Linked DNA regions of Homo sapiens: all the other regions are linked to region 1. The links are contacts of gene promoters, found by promoter capture Hi-C in blood cells and fetal thymus (Javierre and others, 2016). All regions are on one chromosome and are shown on one strand. The core of a region is centred on a gene start or on the middle of the fragment in contact, and the rest is flanking DNA. Distances in the headings are between cores, read along the strand shown.

What was found. The method cuts DNA at HindIII sites, captures the fragments that hold promoters and counts their contacts. A CHiCAGO score of 5 or more calls a contact.
Region 2: a contact is called between a fragment that was not itself captured here and the fragment with the promoter of TIMM17A in region 1, in 3 of 17 cell types (fetal thymus, non-activated CD4 T cells and total CD8 T cells). The highest score is 6.8, in fetal thymus.
Region 3: a contact is called between the fragment with the promoter of DDX59 here and the fragment with the promoter of TIMM17A in region 1, in 2 of 17 cell types (fetal thymus and naive CD8 T cells). The highest score is 8.0, in fetal thymus.

What each region holds. Positions count from the first base shown.
Region 1 is chr1:201,954,193-201,956,892 of GRCh38, forward strand. It overlaps TIMM17A (translocase of inner mitochondrial membrane 17A), which reads left to right and starts at 1,311. Exons shown (of 6, transcript NM_006335.3): 1 at 1,311-1,360. The coding sequence starts at 1,335. RefSeq lists an enhancer at 1,300-1,589. The HindIII fragment of the contact is 2,275 bases long and covers 1-1,880 here.
Region 2 is chr1:202,967,727-202,970,426 of GRCh38, forward strand. No RefSeq gene overlaps it. Among named protein-coding and RNA genes, the nearest start is that of CYB5R1, 1.8 kb to the left of the region's middle. RefSeq lists a silencer at 335-629. The HindIII fragment of the contact is 1,767 bases long and covers 505-2,271 here.
Region 3 is chr1:200,668,657-200,671,356 of GRCh38, forward strand. It overlaps DDX59 (DEAD-box helicase 59), which reads right to left and starts at 1,251. Exons shown (of 8, transcript NM_001031725.6): 1 at 1,111-1,251. DDX59-AS1 (DDX59 antisense RNA 1) reads left to right here and starts at 851. Exons shown (of 3, transcript NR_110787.1): 1 at 851-966. RefSeq lists a silencer at 665-1,404. The HindIII fragment of the contact is 3,439 bases long and covers 1,091-2,700 here.

The sequences.
Region 1 (2,700 bases), core at 61-2,560:
ATGGAGAGGAGCACTTTAACAGCCATCACATGATTGGGATTTTGTTGACAGTAAACTAAAAGCTCCATGGGTCCCAACCTTTTTTTTTTTTTTTTTTTGACAGTGTCTCACTCTGTCACTAGAGTGCAGTGGCATGATCACAGCTCCCTGCGGGGTAGATCTCCTGGGCTCAAGCTATCTTCCCGCCTCAGTCTCCCGAACAGTCAGGGCTACAGGCACGTGTCACCACGCCCGGCCTGGTCCCCATAAGTCCCCTCTTCTCCGAGCCAAACATCTTCACACCTTCTGGTGATCATTAGTGGAGAGGCCTGTGAGAGGCTCTGGTGTCAATGTCCCTGAAATCGAGGGCTCCAAATTGGTCATGGCTCTCCAGATGGCCCAAACAGTTCCAGTTCACAAACATTTATTGAGCATCTACTACATTCCAGGCACTGTGGTTATTATAAATCACTGAGACACTGTTTGCCCTAAAGGAGCTACGTGTATTTGGTAACAGCTTCACAGTAAGTGACGAATAAGATAGCATTAATCCACATTTGACAGCAAAAGTACCAAAAAAGAAAGAAAGAAAAAGAAGAGAGAGAAAGGAAAGAAAAGAAAAGAAGAGAAAGAAAGAGGCCGGGTGCGGCGGCTCACGCCTGTAATTCTAGCACTCTGGGAGGCCGAGGTGGGCGGATCACGAGGTCAGGAGTTCGAGTCCAGCCTGATCAACATGGCGAAACCCCGTCTCTACTAAAAAAACATAAAAATTAGCCGGACCTGGTGGCGCCCGCCTGTAGTCCCAGCTACTCAGGAGGCTAAGGCAGGAGAATCGCTTGAACTCGGGAGGCGGAGGTTGCAGTGAGCCGAGATCTCGCCGCTGCACTCCAGCCTGGGCGACAGAGCCAGACTCTGTCTCAAAAAAAAAAAGAAGAAGAAAAGAAAAAGAAAGAAAGAAAAAGGATGGAAGGAGAGAAGAAAAGGAAAGGGGGAAGGGAAGGGGGAAGGGAAGGCGGAAGGGAAGGGAAAGAAAGAAGCGTATTTAGGCAGTATCGCGTTGATTTCAGTCCACGGAACCTCTGGTGACCGGGTAGTGTGACTCCGTCATTGGTAGCCCCCCGCCCACACAGCCGGGACTCGCGGCCTTTGAGGACGTGGGCAGGGCCAGTCTCGCCACGCCGCGGCCAATGCCCCGACCACACGCTGGCCACAGGAGTCCTGGCTCCCATTGGCTGCAGCGGGAAATGGTGAACCAATGCTCATAGACCTTAACGCCCTCCTCTCGGGATCACTTCCGCCTCTGGGGTCAGGCTCCGCCCAGCTTGCCCGGCATCACTCGCGGCATTGGAGTCAAGATGGAGGAGTACGCGCGAGAGCCTTGGTGAGCTTCACCGCTGTCTTTGCATTTCTCTTGCCCCCCTGCCCACTGCCCTCCTTCTCCCTTGTCCAGGCTCCCAAGGTGCAAGCCAGACTCAACCGCAGCCTCGTCGACTTGGGCCTGGTAACTGGGCAATGCGGTCTTTCGCGGCCAGTCGGCTTCTTAGCCCTGTACTTAGTACCTCCCCGGCCGCGTGAGCCTCCCTCTCCCAACCCAGCACCCGTGTGACCTTGTGATGGATGGTAAGGAGGTCCAGACTTGAGTTTGATAGAACCTCGGAACCTCCTCCCAACGCAGGGCGTAATCGACTTTATGCGGGGCCAGTTATAATCCCCCCTGTTCGTCGAGGTGACCTTGGGCGCGTCCCTCCGTCTCGCCTTGCTCAGTTCCTGCGTTGAGGAACTGAAGAATAGGCATTTGAGGGAGTGTCATTCTTGAGGTTTTACTTGTATCATGATATGTGTCCACAGAGTGAAGCATTTTAAATGAATGGAACATAGATTTTAGCCAAGGGGTCTGGATAAGCTTCTTTATTGCGTGGGGCCTTGTTTTCCTTCTTGGAATTCTTTCTTGAGGGTAGAGGGGGACAAAAATTACCTGGGAAATAGGAAGAGGTAATAGCATGTGTTCTCTGAAAAGCCATGGACAGAAATTCATTGTTACATCCAGCGTTTATTGAGTATGAATAAACCAGACACATAGATAATTATAAAACGATGTAATTGCTGTCAGAAGTCTCAGGTTGCCAGAGTTTAAAGTTTCTAGGGTCATAGGTAAAAAATCAAATCTTGATATTTCGGTTAATCATTTGTTTTATTGTGTAAGAGCAACAACCAAGATGTCCTCAATTTGTGAAAGTGCCCAGGACCTTAAATTACTACTCTGGTATCCTAGCCTTGTTGCATGTTTTATGTTCCCCTCTCCCATAAATGGCATACAAAATATAAGTTTTAGGGTCTCCTGGCTCTTCAAACTTATCTTCTTCAAAGCAGTTATCCTCCATTCTGGATTGTGCTCAGATATGTAGGACTCAGCACACTGTAAATAGCTGTTTGATGTACTATAATGACACAGGTTAGCAGAGAGTTAAAATATTTAACTATGTTGAGTTAAAGATCTTAGAAAAATAAGGCCGGGTGTGGTGGCTCACGCCTGTAATCCCAGCACTTTGGAAGGCCGAGGCGGATCACGAGGTCAGGAGTTCAAGACCAGCCTGGCCAGTATGGTGAAACCCCGTCTCTACTAAAAATACAAATATTAGCCGGGCGTGGTGGCACGCGCCTGTAGTCCCAGCTACTTGGGAGGCTGAGGCAGGAGAATCACTTGAACCCAGGAGACGGAGG
Region 2 (2,700 bases), core at 138-2,637, 1.0 Mb after region 1:
GGGTGGTCTCGAGCTCCAGGGCTCAAATAATCTACCCGCTTCGGCCTCCCAACGTGTTGGGATTACAGGCGTGAGCCATCGCGCCCGGCCCCAAGATCTTTTAAGACCGCAGCTCCAGCCTCTCCTCCCAGCGAGGTGGTCCCTGCCACTTCGACCCGCTTATATCCGAACTGGATGGGAGTTCTGCCTAAGGTAGAACCACGCTAAATTGGGGGATTGGAAATCTCTTGAGTCTGCGGGTGCTGAGCGGAGAGTGTAACGATGAACCAGAGACAGGCTCAAAGTAGAGCAGAAGGGCCTGAAGTTAATCATTGTGCAGTCACCTTAGTTTTTCAACCGGCTGAATTGCAGCAAGAGAATGGAACAGCCCAGAGGAGTCTCTTACAGGAGTGAACAGTGGCATGGCAACTTCATTTCCTTTTGACAAAAGACTGATTTTGTTTACAGCGCCAAGCCGTCAGCCTATCAGGATGATTCAGGAGCTTCCTTTGGTTTCAAAGACCAAGCTTCACATCCTGATTTGGGTTCTTGTGCCCTTAGGGTCAAAGAAGTGGGCTTTGGAGGCAGAGTGTACAGAATAAGAATCTTGCCTCTAGCACTTATTGGCTCTGTGACCTTAGATAGCTTACTCAACCTGAGTTTCTTCATCTACAGATGGATATAAGATGGATATCTACAGATGGATATATATTATTATCTACAGATAGATTGTATCTAGTTCATAGCTTTGGTGTGAGGCTTCAGTGAGATATGTTAACGTGCTTAGTGTAGTGCCTGTCATAAAGCAAAATATTCAACAGTTGGCAGCTACTATTATAACTTAAAAGACAGCACAGAGGGTCAGCTATGGTTTTAGGAATGAGCTCTGCCTGGGGCACAAGCATGGGACAGGAGGAGGCAGGAAAAAACATCAGGAGCCGCTGGAGCTACAGATTTCCCAAGATGACCATTCTTTCTCATACATGAGTTTCTCAACTAGAATGACATTTGCTCTTTGATATACCGTGATGGATGAGATCTCTGCAGATGTCAGTGTCAACATCTTAAACTAATACCATCAGGGCAGCAGGGACATTAGAGCCCCCAGTTTTCAGTTGTATTTGGTGAACTCTGTGAATGATCCAAGAGATACTTAGTTTTCCTTTTCCTCTCCACTGGCTGAAAATGTTCCTAAGACCCCAGTACATGTTCCTCTGAATTTTTTAAGCAGCCTGCACACTGACTTGAGGGAAGTGAGTGCACCAGATCATGGTGACATGCCAATCCATGCAGAGAGGGTTGAAAAGGGGAAGGAAGGGACCCTTCCTCTTTTCTGTTCCGAGAGAATGAGGCGATTATGTTCCGGTGCTTCTGACATCCCCACTGCTGGCTTGGTTAAGAAGCCACACTACTGATCCTTGCCACTGCTCCACTCTGGCTAAAGAGGTTCTAGGCCTTCCTCCCTCTAGTGGATAGATGTGGCAAGAGAGGGGGAAGTATGGAACGAAAGGAGAGCATAACTACAACTCGGGCTTCTCTCAGTGATTGCATTTTCTGAACCCCAAAGTGGCACATTCTAACAAGTGTGAGTGTATCACTGGGAACCACAGGACAGAATGGTTGGGTGTGGGCTTATCCTGGAAACTAAGTGTTGGACTCAGTAATTGTGGGAAGGCTCTTTTGCTCCTGAAAATGAATGCTGCAGGAGTGGTGGGAAGGGGCTGATGGCCTGGCAGGTCTTCCTGTCTCAGATTCTGTGGTGAATTGAACTCCACTCCACCACGACTCATGGTAATCTTACATTACTCCTAGTTTGGAGGAAAAGATAGGCATTTCTGAATTTTTATTTAACCCAATCTTTTAAGTTTAGGATTTCCTCCTGGGTATACAATAAAGAATAGAACAGGCTGGGTTCACGCCTGTAATCCCATCACTTTGGGAGGCTGGATGGATCACTTGAGCCCAGGAGTTTGAGACCAGCCTGGGCAACATGGCAAAATCCTGTCTTTACAAAAATACAAAAATTAGCCAAGTGCGATGGCGCTGGCCTGTAGTCCTAGATACTAAGGAGGCTGAGGTGGGGGTATTGCTTGAGCCTGGGAGATCAACGCTGCAGTGAGCCATGATTGCGCCACTGCACTCCAGCCTGGGCAATAGAGCAAGACCCTGTTTAAAAAAATATATATATATAATGTAGTGTGAGGGGGAAGTAGAATTTCAAACCTGTGTTTTATAATTCTGAATTAGGATGTAAAACTCAGTGGCCCTTTTTAGATAAGATATCCAGAAAGAAGCTTGGAGGAAGACTTGCTCATACTGAGGAGATGGCATGGAGGAATCAGACCAGGAGATGTAATAATGACAAAAAAATTAACATTTATTGAGCATGTGCAATATAGCAAGAACTAGGTAAATTGCTTTTCACGTATTCTGACAACATCCATTTAATCCTGACAACAACTGTGAGATAGATATTATCATTAGTAGTCTCATTTTATGGAGTGGGGGGAAACTGAAGTTTAGGACAAGTAAGTCACTTGCCCAAGATCACCTACTAAATGGCAAACTCAGACTGCATACCAGGCAGCTTGATGTTGAAAACTAACAACCTCACACCCTTTTTGAACTTTTCTTTTTTTTTTGAGACGGAGTCTTGCTCTGTCACCCAGGCTGGAGTGCAGTGGCGCAATCTCGACTCACTGCAACCTCTGCCTCCCAGGT
Region 3 (2,700 bases), core at 1-2,500, 1.3 Mb before region 1:
TTGGTGAGAATTCCCATCTCCCCTTGTTTTCCCTCCTTCCTTCCCAGATCCAGGAGATAATCAACTAAGAGCCAGGCACCCTTTTAAGTCCAATATAAAACAATTTACAACCTGCTCTCTCTAAAGTCTATCTAAGAGCTTCCTCTGCACAATAAAACTTGGTCTCCACAATCCTTTATCTCTAGCCTGAACATTCCTTTTTATGGATCCCAGGTCTTTAGATAACCTCAACCAGATAACGTTTACATTTACCGATTGAGTTGCCCCGCCTTTCTAAACTAAACCAATGTATTTCTTAAATGTATTTGATGTCTCACGCCTTCCTAAAATAGATAAAACCAAGCTGTACCCCAATTTCCTTGGGCACATGTTCTCAGGACCTCCTGAGGACTGTCACTGGCCATGGTCACTTGAATCTGGCTCAAAATAAATCTCTTCAAATATTTTTCAGAGTTTGATTCTTTTCATCAACCCATATCTATACCTTTTTACACCAAAAACATGTCTTTGCAAAATTACAGTTATTGGGAATAAGGCTTTTAACCTAATCTGGGGACTATCAAATATACTAATAAATATTTTTCTTAAAAAAATTCTTTGTTTAAACTGCCAGATTCCAACTTCCAGAAAAATTCCAACAGAAATGCAACCGAGGGTCTAGAATTACTATCCTAAATCTCCGAAAATGTACAGGGGGTGGCGGGCGGGGCAGGGACGGCTCTAGGTGAGCAGGAAAAAGCTTGGAACTCAGTCTTCCAATGGCGAAAGGGAACGTGCTCCTGCTGGGCGGGACGGCGGACGGCTGGCGGCGGCGCGGCCTCCAATTCTCGCCAACGCGCCCCGCACCCCCGTGCACTGGCGGGCCCTCCCCTCGGGCGTTGCCTCCCACCCACGCCCGGCGGCACCGCACCCCGAGGCGCTTCACGTCACGGAGCTGCTAGGAGACGGGCGGGGCTCCGGTTCCGGGTAGAGGCCTGGGACACGGGGAACTGTAAGGATGGGAGGAAGGCCGCGCAGGGGCACCAGTTCTGCCGCCGCGGCCTAGCGCCCCAGGTCCCGGAGAAGGGGCACCAGGGCGGCCAGGGGCCCAAGCTTCCGGGGCACGCTCACCCGCGCAGGACTGAGGCCGCGTCCGCTCCCGCTCCCGCTCGGGCCGTCTCCCCCTTCCAGGCTCCAGGCCAGGCTTCCGCCCGACAAGCCCTGACCCGCTCGTCAGGACTGCGGCCCGGGGTTGGTGGTGCGGAGCGGAGCGGAGCGGAGCGTAGAGTAGAATCCACTTCCCCGGGTTTTGGGAGGGGGCCGCAGCCCGCTTTCCGGGCGGCGGGGAGGCGGGGCCACCGCGGGGGCGGAGCTCGGCTGGGAGCCGGCAGTGGCTTGGGAGGGAGGGAGGGAGAAGGAGAGGGGCGGGAAGGCTCCTCGCGTTTTCCACGCCCCCGCCCAGCTCTGGGCTGGTGGTAAATCTCGGAACTGGTCCGGGCTGGGCGAGTTCTGGACGGAGGGGCACGTTTGGGAATCCTCTTGGAAGAATTTACGTAATCGAATGGGCTGGGACTGGTGGAAAAGAGTTGGACCGTCCGGAAAGAAGCAGGAGGGCGGCGCGGGGGCCTGGCACCCTTAGAAAGTGGGAAGTGTGAGTGTAAAAGGGAGGGGCACTTCTGCCCGTTGGGCCCAAAAACCCTTTTCTGGCTTTAGCTAGTAGAGCCACTCAAAATTTAAACGGAGTCAGCTTGATGTGGCATATATGATAAGCTGGATAATATTTCCTGCACCACCGCACCCCTCCCCCCACCCCAACACCAACAAGAAAATAACACAAGTCACGGTTCTTGTTCCTTGTGGGCTGACATTTCCCTGTTTTGCCAACCTCTGGAGCCACGTGTCCCAAGCAGCTTGTAGTTGAGAAGTGATGGGGGAGAGGAGACAGCACGGGAGAGGAAGGAGGGAAGCCAGCTTATATTCAGGTGCCTTAAGTATTTAAAAATATTTTCAGTGTAATAGTCGATGCATTCAAAAGAGCATATTTACCAAATATGTAAAATTTAAAGTATGCTAATGAAACTATCACTCCACCACGTTATCAGTATTTAGCATGTATCTATGCATCTCCAGGATTCTACTCCTGGCCTCTTAGCTCACCACCACTATCTTCAGTTTTGTCCCTCTTTGCCATTTTTAGTGGTTTTATCATATTTGGATGCATTCCTGTGTATTGGTGTATTTTTCTTCTTTTTGAGCTTTATAAAAATACATATAGCCTGGAATTCGCTTTTTATCACTCAACATTTGTTTTTTTGGTTCATCCAAGTTGTTACGTGTAGTAACAGAACATTTATTTCTTACTGCCTAGTCAAAAGGAAGTTTTCTCCTGTCAGGAATGTATTCAATACTGTAGCGGATAGGATTATAAATGCACTTTAAGTATTTTCTTTATTGATGGGAACCACACAGACTAAATGTATCAGACTTCCCAAGTTCGTAGGTCACATACCTATAACAGAACTCTTTTCCTGGGTTTTGTGACATTTCTAATTGTTGTAATTTCTTTTGCCATTATAAAAATTAGTCACTTTTGAACCTAATTTGTATTCATCATTCTGAATCTTTTTCTTTAAAAGCCTCCTCTTTTCCAATTATATAAGCTCATACCCCATAAAACCTGAATCTGCCCCTAGTAATTACTAATAAGGCTAGTAGGAGCAT